4 separate regions of the Homo sapiens genome follow, and all the other regions are linked to region 1. Evidence: promoter capture Hi-C in human tissues and cell types (Jung and others, 2019). All regions are on one chromosome and are shown on one strand. Each heading gives the region's core, a stretch centred on a gene start or on the middle of the fragment in contact. The rest is flanking DNA. Distances are from core to core; before and after follow the strand shown. Region 1 holds the start of ZFAND3 (zinc finger AN1-type containing 3). Region 2 overlaps ZFAND3 (zinc finger AN1-type containing 3). Region 3 overlaps ZFAND3 (zinc finger AN1-type containing 3). Region 4 overlaps ZFAND3 (zinc finger AN1-type containing 3).

Region 1 (3,135 bases), core at 322-2,821:
TCACCATCAACAGCATCTGTGGCATATTAAGCTAAATGCGATCCTTGCTCTTTAGAGGCCAAAATAAACATCAATGTTAACAAACCCACACAGTATGCACAAACAGAAATGTGATTTGGTATATAAAGAAATAAGATAGCAACATTTGGTAATCAAATTAATCTAGGTAATAGTCTCTCTGAGGCTCTGATATACCCGACAGGCAAGGAGGGTATACGGCAGCTATTCCTAAGAGCCAGGAAGTCTTCCTCAGCGATGGGTCTCCAAAAGGTCTGGAGGATGTTGCCTCCGTGTTGAATTAGTCATCAATAATCGATTTCTCTGTTCATGACTAACTGGAGATCAGAATGAGCTCAGGATCAAGGACTAGGATCGTTAAAGGACTCATTTTTTTAGTGTCTCAAACTTCTTTGGTCACTTACCAATTTCCATTACTGATTCAGCTACAGCTCCCCTTTCCCCTCCAAAAACCAAACGTGTCAGCTGTAGGAAGAAGTGCGGCTCTCCTAGCCTGGGCATAGGGACTCGCCTGGGCATAGATAATGTACTTGTGGCTCTGTGGTTGGGAGTGGAGACAAGGAACTCCCCAACACCGGTGGGGGAGAAGAGACAAGGAAGTTGCCCCAGACAAGGGGCTGGGGGAGGGGCATTTCCCAAAAGTTCCTGTCAAGAGACCAGTATACCGGGTGGAACTATAAGAGTTGTTTGGGTGTGGCGGGACCAGGAAGAGAGAGAGAGATGCCCAGGGAGTTGGCAAATTGGGGAGAATGGCTCCCCGGAATCGCCCAGGAGCCAGAGCGGCAGCTCCAGGGACCTTGACTCCGACGCCCCCGGGAAGCCAGAGCTCCACTTCCGCGTTTGGCATTGCTCCCCCAGGCCCCTCCTCGCACTCGGTTACGGGTTCTACGGGCGCATGCGCCGCCACTCTGGGACTGGCCCAATTTACCCTACACAACTAATCTGCTCCTCCCCCTCCCGCTTGGAGCGCACCATTCGCGTTTAGGGGGAGGCACCGCGCCCCGGAGTACTCAGAAACCTGCTCCCCTTCTTCAGACAGGGGGAAGATAAGTTTGCTTCAGATTCTAAAAGTTCTAAGAATACGAAGGCCTCAGCCGCCCGTCGCCGGGCGACAGCCCGAGGCTCTCGTTTTCTCCCACAGCCCCGCACTCCGCCTTTGAGGCGCGGAACGAAGTGGCACGCCCGGATCCCAGCTGATCAGCGGCTGGGCTTTGGCGTTGGCTCCCCCGGGCGAGACCATTGTGACTCCTCGGGAGGGGCGCACGCCGGGGAGGGGGCGGAGCGGCCATTGTCCGGTCAGCGCAGCCTCCGGGGGAGGGGACGGTGTTACGGAGACAGCAGGGCCCGGGGCTTCAGAGCGGCCGCTGCGACTCCGGAGCCGGCGGGGGGCTCCGGTCCTTCCCTGCGCCACCGCACAGGACATCTCTCTGGCTGGGGAGCGGCGGTGAGACCCGCCGAGGGCGTCTGTGTCCCTCCTCCCCCGCGGTCCTCGGTGCGTCCGCACGCCCCTCCTCCTCGGCTCCCTCCTTCTTCTCTCCGCGCCTCTCCGCCCCCTCCCCGTCTCCGCAGGCCGAGTGGTGCGGCCCGCCTCCAGCTGACCGGCCTGGAATCCCGGCTCCGAGCCCCGGACTCGCGCCCGCCCGCGCGCCCGCTCCTTCCCCCTCCCCCCGCCCCGAGCCCCCCGACGCCGCCGCCACCGCCTCCTCAGAGCGGGGCCCGGGCCCAGCCGCCGCCACCGCTGCCGCCGCCGAGCTCCGCCGCCGCCGAGCACCATGGGAGACGCTGGGAGCGAGCGCAGCAAAGCGCCCAGCCTGCCGCCTCGCTGTCCCTGCGGCTTCTGGGGGTAAGTGCCCGGCCGGGTGGGGGCGGGGGGCGGGGGCCGGGGGCGCAGACGCCAGGGCAGCCTGGGCAGGCCTCGGGGCCCGGGAGGCCGGAACCTTGGAGGCTGGGCCCAGCCCGGGCCTACGGGGAGGGGGTGGGGGTCGCGTTCCGGGGAGGGGTGCCGGGTGGGGAGCTGGGGGTGGGCAGAGAAGGCCCTGCCGGGGGTGCGTTGCTACCCTTTGGGACTCGCCGGCCTGAAGCTCGGGCCCACGGGGGCCTCCTGGGCCACGGGTGAGGGGGGCAGGGCGGCGGGGAGGGATGAGGGGGCGGCGTTGACCGCTCCGGGAGGAGCAGGGGTGCCCCTTCCGTGGGCATGTGGAAGCCAGCCCTTCCTCCCTCCCGGGGCGTGAGTTGGTGCCCAGGCACTAGGAGGGTATTTCCTCTGACTTCTTCACCTCCCCTCCTCCCCGTCCTCCGGAGACTTGCATCATCACTTCCTAGATTATATCCCAGTGCCCCATTTGCTTTTAGGAAGCTATTCACACGTCACCCGTTTGTAAAAACCGAGTCCAGAACCAGGCTGGGGTAAAGTTATAAGATTGTTGAGGTCTCACCTTCATGTAAAACACGTTTCAGGAGATATGTAAAATTTCCTTGTCAAAAAGGAAGAAAAAAACCACACAAAACCTGAAGTCAGCCTGGATTGGGGAATATGAGATCCAGTTTCCTCAGTTGGCTCTCAAATTCTCCTCTTTCTCAATTTAAGTAAAAATGATAAAAATGTTGACAGTGGGTAGCATATATTGTTTGGCCATCATGTGTTAAGGCGAAAAAAATGTGAGGTGGGAAATCAGCTCCTCTTCCTCCCCCCATTACTGTTTAAATTCTCCTGGTAACACTTTAAGCTTCATGGATTGCCACCTAACAGGTGCCTCCATCATACCACATGACTGTAGTTCTGCAGTAAGAAAGCTGGAGACTTTGAAGGCTGGCTTTTGTGATTTGAGTCCCTTTTCTCTTTTATCGTTTTGTTTTAGTTTTATTTTTTGAGAGATTCCGTATATTTGGAGACATAGAGGCAGGAAGGAAGATTGTTTCTGGTGAGGACATCTTGGGAAGAAGTATGGAAGTAGTTTTCCCTTTGCTATCTCCCATATTGTAGGAATGGTTAACAGAAATTAAGAGTAATTTTGGGAGTGCAGAGAAAGATTAGAAAGTGGATCTTAATGTAGACTTCTGTGGAAGTTGTCGTATCTCAAGGTTATGACAAAGAAGTGGATTTTCATTTTCTCATTT
Region 2 (3,135 bases), core at 394-2,893, 310 kb after region 1:
TTTGGCAGTATGGTCATTTTCACAATATTGATTCTACCCATCCATGAGCATGGGATGTGTTTCCATTTGTTTATGTTGTCTATGATTTCTTTCCGCAATGTTTGTAGTTTTCCTTGTAGAGGTCTTTCATCTCCTTGGTTAGGTATATTCCTAAGTTTTCATTTTGATGGTTTTTTTTGTTTGTTTTGTTTTTGCACCTATTGTAAAAGGGGTTGAGTTCTTTATTTGAGAGCTACTGATTTGTGTACATTAATTTTGTATCCAGAAACTTGCCGATTTATTTAATCAGTTCTAGGAGCTTTCTAGAGGAGTCTTTAGAGTTTTCTAGGTGAACGATCATATCATCCATCAGCAAACAGTGAGTTTGACTTCCTCCTTAATGATTTGGATGCCCTTTATTTCTTTCTCTTGTCTGATTGCTCTGGCTAGGACTTCCAGTACTATGTTGAAGAGGAGTGGTGACAGTGGGCATCCTTGTCTAGTTCCAGTTCTCAGAGGGAATGCTTTCAACTTTTCCCCATTCAGTATTTTGTTGGCTGCAGGCTTGTCATAGATGGCTTTTATTATATTGAGGTATATTCCTTGTATGCTGATTTTGGTAAGAGTTTTAATCATAAAGTGATGCTGGATTTTGTTGAATGCTTTTTCTGCATCTACTGAGATGATCATGTGATTTTTGTTTTCAATTATGTTTGTGTGGTATATCCCATTTATTGACTTGAGTATGTTAAACCATCCCTGCATCCTTGGTATGAAACCCATTTGATCATGGTGGATTATCTTTTTGATATGTTGTTGGATTTGGTTAGCTAGTATTTTGTTAAGGATTTTAGCATATATGTTCATCAGGGATATTGGTCTGTAGTTTTCTTTTTTGGTTATGTTCTTTCCTGGTTTTGGTATTAGGGTGATACTGGCTTCATAGAATGATTTGGGGAGGGTTTCCTCTTTATCTTGTGGAATAGTGTCAATAGGATTAGTACCAACTCTTCTTTGAATGTCTGGTAGAATTCTGCTGTGAATCCGTCTGGTCTTGGACTTTTTTTGTTGATATATTTTTAATTAGCATTTCAGTCTTACTGCTTGTTATTGGTCTGTTCAGGGTATCTAATTCTTCCTGATGTAAGCTAGGAGGGTTGTATCTTTCCAGGAATTTATCCATCTCGTCTAGGTTTTTCTAGTTTATGTGCATAATGGTGTTCATAGTAGCCTTGATTGATCCTCTGTATTTCTGTGTTGTCAGTTGTAATCTCTTCCGTTTCATTTCTTATTTAGCTTATTTGGATTTTCTCTCTTCTTAGTTAATCTTGTTAATGGCCTATGAATTTTATTTATCTTTTCAAAAAAAACAGCTTTTTGTTTCATTTATCTTTTGTGATTTTTTTGTTTCATTTAGTTTTACTCTGATATTGGTTCTTTTCTTCTTCTGGGTTTGTGATTCCCCTCTTAAGGAGTACTTCTAAGAAGTGTGGGCCTCAGCCCAGCGCTTTAGAGTCCTTCTTTAGAAGGTAAAAACGCAGTTCTTTAAGTAATTTTAATGTACCCCCAAGTTAGACCATACTGCCTGTACATTTTATAGACTCATTTGTTCATAGGAAACACCAAGATAATTTAGAAACAAAGAGAATTACTGGAAATTGCAAATGAGTAGTACCCACATCAATGAGGTTTCATATTGGTTCCAGTCACTTCCATTCTCTCTCACTTAGAGATTTATACCTTTTGGGTGTGTAACACATACCTTCCTCCCACTGTTGTCCCCTTCCTTGCCAGACTCAAAAAATCTCAGCAGGCAGGAGTACATGATGCTCTGTAACTTCCCACAGCCCCTATTGGAGTATGTGGCCTGTAGTGGCTGCCCAGTCAGTGGTGACTAATAATGTACAAGAAAAAATGGAAAGTCCAAGAAATGTGGTGTCCTCATGAGCCTGCTGCTTATGATTAGGGGAAAGCCCTTTTGGAACAGTGTTTGAAAGCAGGCCCAACCACAGCTGAGTGGGAATATTTCTGGGCCAGTAGCCATGTAAATTCTTGAGGTCCAGGGTACATGTGCAGCCTCAGGATTTCCCAGTGGATTATTTGGCTGAACGAAAAAGATCCAGATAGAGTGTTTCCCCCCCACCAATTTTTATTGGTAGAGGAAGAAAATAATTCAGACTAGACATATATGCTGTCAGATAGGGTAGTGTCCTTGCTTGCTTGAATTAAAATTATTTGGTATGCTTATGAGTTTAATTAAATAACTCAACTTTGGGGAAGGGTGTACTTGCACAAATAAAACCTGTGTTTGTATTAGTACTTGGACATGAATAAGATGGGTTCTGTGGGCTGGGTGCGGTGGCTCACACCTGTAATCCCAACACTTTGAGAGCCAAGGTGGGAGGATCGCTTGAAGCCAGGAGTTCAAGACCAGCCTGGACAATGTAGCAAAAACCCGTCTCTACAAAAAAATAAAATAAGCCTAGTGTGGTGGCATATGCCATAGTCCTAACTACTCAGAGGCTGAGGGAGAGGAATTGCTTGAGCCTAGGAATTTGAGGCTGCATTGAGCTGTGATCATGTCCCTGCACTCCAGCCAGGGTAACAGAGTGAGACCCTGTCTCATAGAAAACAAAATACATGGGTTCTTCGGAGGTCACAGACCTACTGTGTGTAACCGCACTAGTCTCTGATTCCTGCCTAACAAACTTGCGATTCCTTGACATATAATCCAAGTAATTAAGGTATCTTAGAAGCCATCCATCTGGTGCCAGTCCAGACCCCTAAACTGACGCTGCATAAACCCCATCAGCAGTTTCCTGGCAGGTAGTCCCACTGTGTACATCTGCATGGAGGGAGTGTGGCATCTCCTGCATGGAGGATGTATGGCATCTCCTGTTGCTGGGCAACTTAGATTGACTAGGTGCTTCCTCTACCCAGCTTAAACTGGCCTCCCTCTAGAACACATACTCATTCCCCCTCACTCTGCCCTCCGGAGCAGTCTGTCACAAATCCTCTTCTTCAAGCCTGTTCACAGATTTGAGCACTGTGATGTAAGCTTTCCAGCAGCCCAGCTCCCGCAGTAACAAATTCATTCTCAGAGACCACAGAACTGATATTGGAGCATGAAGGACAGGGTCAGAAACAGGACTGGAC
Region 3 (3,135 bases), core at 428-2,927, 280 kb after region 1:
AAATTCAGAAAATTTACTTGAATTAGTGTCTCATTCATCTTTACCCATTTCCCCACCTCACCCCTACACTCAGTGTTTCTCCATAAAGGAAATCTATTTTCAGTCTTTTTGGCAAAGGACTCAGGGCCAGATTAGGTTAACCCCTGGGCAAGTCATCTATACTTAGAGACCAAGGTGTTGGGGTACAGCATTATTCGAAGACTTCTAGCTTGTCTCTTCCCTCCAGACCTGTCCAAATATAAGTCAACAGTAGGAGGAAGTGCCCACAGTTGCAGGTACTATCCAGCTGCCCAAAAGTTGTATAATTTTATAAGGCTGAATTTAAATGCCTCTAGGCTTCACGTAACTACAGAGTAGGCAGGAGACTTACTCTGTATTTCTAGAAAGTTTAACTTTTTTGTTTGTTTTTTTGAGGCAGAGTCTTGCTCTGTCCCCCAGGCTGGAATGCAGTGGCGCGATCTCGGCTCACTGCAACCTCCGCCTCCTGGGTTCAAGCAATTCTCCTGCCTCAGCCTCTGGAGTAGCTGGGACTACAGGCGCGTGCCACCATGTCCAACTAATTTTTGTATTTTTAGTAGAGATGGGGTTTCACCATGTTGGCCAGGCTGGTCTTGAACTCCTGACCTCAGGTGATCCACCTGCTGCGGCTTCCCAAAGTGCTGGGATTATAGGCGTGAGCCACCGCGCCTGGCTGGAAGTTTAACTTCTAAATGAATGTTCTAAGAAAATGAAAACAGCATTGCCCATCTTAAACACAGTTACAGTAAGTCCTCACTTAATGTTGTTGATTGATTCTTTCAAACTGCGACTTTAAGGGGAACGACAACAGGTCCTCAGATAACATCATTTGGTTATGACGTTATGAGAAAAAAAGTTGGCTTTGTTATATGTTGTTTTCCTTAAAGTCACAGTTTCTAAGAGCCTGTCAGCAACATTGAGGACTTAACCGTATATGAAAATAAATCTGGGTGTGTGTGTGTGTATGTATATATATATATATATATACACACAATATATATATACACACACACATATATATACACACACACGTATATACACACACATATATATACACGTGTATATATATACACACATATATACACGTGTATATATATACACACATATATACACGTGTATATATATACACGTGTATATATACACATATATATACACACACACATACATACATACACACTTCACGGACTTCTCAAGTTTCTCTCTTTTGGCAGATGAAAAATCTTGGCTGATTTTGCTCTTCTGATAAATACTGCAAAAGATAGTAGAACTGAAGTTCTATCTAGTCTTAACACTGTACGAACACTGTACAAATCTTTGAATTCTTATGGTTATAGACTGACTTGGGGCCAAGGAACAGATTAAAATTAGGGGACTTGGGCATGTGGACTTTGAGAAGTAGATTTTTCTGTTAGGTTTTTCAGTTTTGCTTTTCTGTCTGTTTTGTCTTAACTTAGAGTACTACCTTATTCGGTACTCCACTGATGCTATAAATGTAGTATTTTTAAACATCAATGCATTGTAATGTTGTTGAACTCCAAAATGCCCAAGCATGTTATAAAAAGGAAAGGTTATCTATTGAGGTTCATTTGTCATTTACAATGAGAACTGAAAACTTTATGAGAAAAAAGTAATATAGTTGGGCAGGCAGGAGAGGTCTTGCTGATATGGAGAAGCTAAAACAAGGAAATGGTGCTAGGCTAAGTATCAGCCACAAAGGATGACTGCTGTATTGCTAGCCTGACAGGTTCCACTGACCAGACACCTCTTTGAGGAATTTAGCTCCTGGCAATGCCCTTTCAGTAATTAGTGCAGTGGAAATGGCACTTAACAAACAGGGATGGTGGCTGCAGTTTTTCAATGAACCCATCCTCATCTGTGCCTTTTTGGTAAAGAGACCTCGCGTATGAGCTGTAGGACACTCTCGGGGTGGTTGAGAAGAGGAAGCTTTGACTTCTGCCTGTGAGACCCATATAAAGCTGAGAAGACATGTTTTGCCTTATCTGATAATTAAAAGCAATAAAATTTCAAATGAAAATACCTAGGTTTTCTTGTGCTAATGGGGAGAAGTTTTTTTTGTATCCTACAAGTAATCAGTAAAGAAACTTTTGTGGATGAAGTCTTTAAAAATAACATGCAAGTATCTAAATCCAAGATTAAGCCTAAGATATGACTGGTGGAATGATGTTGTACATCAGAAAAGAAGATAATGAATAAATTAAGTACTATATGACTACAGTCCACAGAAATCCAGAGAGTTAGCAGGAGTGGAAAGAAAATCATGTGAGAAGTCTTATAAATCATATTCTAAGAGCAGAGAACAAGTAGATTTATTCAGCAGAGATATATCCTAGATAAATTAATAATCATATTTGGACAAGATAATTTTATGAAATAGAGGAGCTTGTTTTCATTCCTATATTTGCCCCAGGATCTGTCCCCTGCCCTCATCCCAGAGACAGCTGGGTCTTTGTATACGCAGAAAGTAGCAGAAAGTTGTCTTCGTAATAAGGTACTCTTATGGGAAAGCAGAAGTAGCATCTTTAAGTGTAGCAACTGTTGGAGACAGGATATATAGTAGTTAAGAGCAAGGACTCTAGGCCAGGCTACTCTTCACTTATTTGTTGTGTGACTGTGGGCAGTTCACTTAACCAATGCCTCAGTTTCCTCATGTGTGAAATGCAGGTAGTAGCTACCTCATAGCCTTGTTGTAACACCAAAATGAGTTAATATATGTAAGAGCATTTAGAAGGTGCTGATAAAGAATATGTGCTTTGTGTTAGTGTTCATTATTGCAATTATTAGGAAGCTTAACTTTAAGGAATCTCTTTTGTCATATCCACCTTCCATGATAAGTGGCCTTAAAAATAGGCTTGTACAAGTCCAGGCATGGTGGGTCATGCCTGTAATCCCAGCTACTCCAGAAGCTGAGGGGAGGATCGCTTGAGCCCAGGAGTTTGAGGCTGCCGTGACCTGTGATCATGCCACTGCACTCCAGCTCGGGTAACAGAGCAAGACCCAGTCTATTAAAAAAAATTTTTTTAATGAGTTTGGACACATGGGTTGTGTACACACTGTATGGTTCCATGTATATGTTCACATATGTGACATTCTTGAAAT
Region 4 (3,135 bases), core at 321-2,820, 270 kb after region 1:
AAGCCAGCTGTACTTCTTTTCAAGAAGACTGTTCTGTGCCCTCTTAGGCTAGCCAGACTGCCTCAGCCTTAAATATTGGCCCTGACTCTAAAGGACAGAGCTTCCTGATTTTGAGAGGTAAATTGAAATGATTTATTTTGAGAACCACAGGTTGACTGTCTTTGTCTCCATCTTTCTCTGTGTCCTGCAGTCAGCAGGTTGCCCATGGTGGGGATTTCAATCATTTTTCTTCTGAACCACCAATTGTTATTGTTATTTTGCTGGAATGTTCTTTGTAGCCTTTATGTCTAGGCTCTTCAAGTTAGGATTCATATCTATGACATGTGCTGTACAGTGCTTCTACTGTGAGGTAGTCTCCCAGACAGAAACCACATGGGCCTTCAGGCATAGATGGTCAGTAAATAATTACTTTACAGTGGTGTCATTTCTTAGGAGACACAGAGTGAGACCTTAAGTGAGATCTTACCTACCTCCTCCCATCCAATCTATCCATACAAGGTTGGACCTAAAGCAGCCTTGAGCTTAATAATGATGTGTGTTAGAACAAGGATACTGAGATTAGACTAAGGTGGTTCTTTAAGTCAGCCGTCTCTGACAAAGGGCACACAATGTACTGTCTGAGGTGTGTGGAGAAAATAGCAAAAGCTCTTTATCTCAGCCTTAATTTATATTTTGCAAATTCACTTTATTATATGTGTGTGTGTTCATACATATACTTTTATTTATTTATTTATTTTTATTTTTTAATAAAGACAAGGTCTTATTATGTTGCCCAGACTGGTCTCAAACTCTTGAGCTCAGGCAGTCCTCTCGCCTTGACCTCCCACAGTGCTAGGATTACAGGCATGAGCAACCGTGCTCAGCCCATACATGCAGTTTATAAACAGCAAATACACACACAAATATATACATATTAAAGGTACATGGCCAGTTAGATAGGACTATGCAGTTTAAAAAGGTTAATGACTTCTTCAGTAAACAGATCATTTTCTTCTTAGTACTTTGAAAATTAGCTCTAAGGATTAGCATTAGACCCATTATTATGTGGTTTAGTAAGTGAAGACCTCAGTGATTGATTAATCAGTCACCATTTGTATTTCAAGCAATTACTGTTTTGATCAGGTGAAGGGTATTGTCATATTTTAGAGGTGGGCAGCAGTGTAGAGTGGTTGGTCTACAACTATCAAAATGAGAGAGGCAGCTCTTTTTTAAGAAATTGTTTTGTGATCACTGTGAGTCTACGAAGCAGATTGCAAAAAGTAGCTGTAGTAGCAAATGAAAGATCAGTTTGTCTTTGTGAGATAGATGGGAAAGACTTTTCTTTATATGATGGCTTTTAGCCAGACAGAATTATTAACAGTTAAACTCATTGTAATCTTTAGATTAAAAAAAAATAAAAAAGCAACACGATGATCATTTTGGTATTTAAACAGAGAGAAATTAGATAGATGAAGGGTGTGTGGTCGTTCCCACTCCACCCCACCCCTACCATCTTTGTAGAGTTCTAGGATCTCCACAGTCAATGAAGAGTTGAAAAGTACTGCCAAGTCCTAGGTTGCTTTTGGTTAGAATGTGTGAGTTAAAGCACATCATACCTTCAGATTACTAGACAGAGTTTACATTTCTTCAGAGCTCAGAATGTTTTCCACATGTTCCCTTGTTAATTCTCACAACATTCCTGCCAAGAACAAGTATTTTGTGAAGGAAAGAGATCACTTTCCTTGGCAACAAACTACAAGAAGATTCCCTTTTGTCCCTCATCTTTTCTAACCGTCAAGTTATACCTTCAGCTAATAAAATACTGTAACCGGAGTTACAGTCATCTCCTTTAATTTTATTTGGAAGGTATTTGGATATTTAGCTGGCTATCTTCATGACAGTATATTTTTATGTTTAAAGTGGGCACAGATTCAATGCAATCCCTATCAAAATACCAGTGACATTCTTCACAGAAATAGAAAAAAATCCTAAAATTTATATGGAACAACAAAAGACCCAGAATAGACAAAGCTATCGTAAGCAAAAAGAACAAAACTGGAGGAATGACATTATGAGACTTCAATTTATACTACAGAGCTATACTAACCAGAACAACCTCAAACTGGCATAAAAAGATATGTAGACCAATGGAATGGAATAGAGAACCCAGAAACAAATCCACACACCTACAGTGAACTCATTTTTGACAAAGGTGCCAAGAACATATACTAGAGAAAAGAAAATATCTCCAATAAATGGTGCTGGGAAAACTGGATACTCATGTGCAGAAGTATGAAACTAGACCCCTGTCTCTCTCCACATACAAAAATAAAATCAAAGTGGATTAAAGACTTAAATCTGAAACCTCAAACTATGAAACTACTACAAGAAAAGATTGGGAGAAATATCCAGGACATTGGTCTGGGCAAAAATTTCTTGAGCATACCCCACAAGCACAGGCAACCAAAGCTAAAATGGACAAATGCGATCACATCAGGTTAAACAGCTTCTGCACAGCAAAGAATACAGCTAACAAAGTGAAGAGACAACCCAGAGAATGGGAGAAAATATTTGCAAACTACTCATCTGACAAGGGATTAATAACCAGAATATTTAAGGAGCTCCAACAACTAAATAGGACAAAATCTAATAATCGATCAAAAAAACAGACAGAAGATTTGAATAGACATTTCTCAAAAGAAGACCTATGAATGGCAAACAGACATATAAAAAGTTGCTCAACATCATTGATCGTCAGAGAACTACAAATCAAAACTACAATGAGATGTCATCTCACCCCAATTAAACTGGCTTATATTCAGAAGACAGGCAATAACAAGTATTGACAAGGATGTGGAGAAAAGGAATTCCTTGTACACTGTTGGTGGGAATGTAAATTATTACAACCACTATGGAGAACAGTTTGGAGGTTTCTCAAATAATTGGGCTCCCATATGATCCAGCCATTCCACTGCTGGGTACATAGCCAAAATAAGGAAATAAGTATACTGAAGTGGTATCTGCACTCCCATATATATTGCAGCACTATTCACAATAGCTAAGAATGTTTCCAGCATGAAATGTTTCCTTGCTGTTAGGTTACTGGAAGTTTATATGATATTTTAAAAATTGATTCAGAAGCTAAAGAGTGTTGGT

What was found. The method cuts DNA at HindIII sites, captures the fragments that hold promoters and counts their contacts. A contact is called where the count stands out against the background at its distance.
Region 2: a fragment that was not itself captured here is called in contact with the fragment with the promoter of ZFAND3 in region 1 in 2 of the 25 tissues and cell types used here (IMR-90 fibroblasts and dorsolateral prefrontal cortex).
Region 3: a contact is called between a fragment that was not itself captured here and the fragment with the promoter of ZFAND3 in region 1, in 4 of the 25 tissues and cell types used here (adrenal gland, dorsolateral prefrontal cortex, hippocampus and 1 more).
Region 4: a contact is called between a fragment that was not itself captured here and the fragment with the promoter of ZFAND3 in region 1, in 1 of the 25 tissues and cell types used here (hippocampus).

Annotation. Positions count from the first base shown.
Region 1 is chr6:37,818,156-37,821,290 of GRCh38, forward strand. It overlaps ZFAND3 (zinc finger AN1-type containing 3), which reads left to right and starts at 1,572. Exons shown (of 6, transcript NM_021943.3): 1 at 1,572-1,861. The coding sequence starts at 1,791. It overlaps ZFAND3-DT (ZFAND3 divergent transcript), which reads right to left and starts at 1,232. Exons shown (of 2, transcript XR_007059569.1): 1 at 423-1,232; 2 at 1-335. RefSeq lists enhancers at 779-1,168, 1,138-1,940 and silencers at 1,219-1,598, 1,639-1,868, 2,029-2,198. The HindIII fragment of the contact is 25,591 bases long and covers 1-3,135 here.
Region 2 is chr6:38,129,904-38,133,038 of GRCh38, forward strand. The region is part of intron 5 of ZFAND3 (zinc finger AN1-type containing 3); the gene reads left to right. It overlaps LOC124901314 (a long non-coding RNA gene), which reads left to right. Exons shown (of 2, transcript XR_007059570.1): 1 at 1-3,135. Among named protein-coding and RNA genes, the nearest start is that of ZFAND3, 310 kb to the left of the region's middle. The HindIII fragment of the contact is 3,667 bases long and covers 1-3,135 here.
Region 3 is chr6:38,102,364-38,105,498 of GRCh38, forward strand. All of the region lies in intron 4 of ZFAND3 (zinc finger AN1-type containing 3), which reads left to right. Among named protein-coding and RNA genes, the nearest start is that of ZFAND3, 280 kb to the left of the region's middle. The HindIII fragment of the contact is 4,358 bases long and covers 1-3,135 here.
Region 4 is chr6:38,084,875-38,088,009 of GRCh38, forward strand. The region is part of intron 4 of ZFAND3 (zinc finger AN1-type containing 3); the gene reads left to right. Among named protein-coding and RNA genes, the nearest start is that of ZFAND3, 270 kb to the left of the region's middle. The HindIII fragment of the contact is 5,011 bases long and covers 1-3,135 here.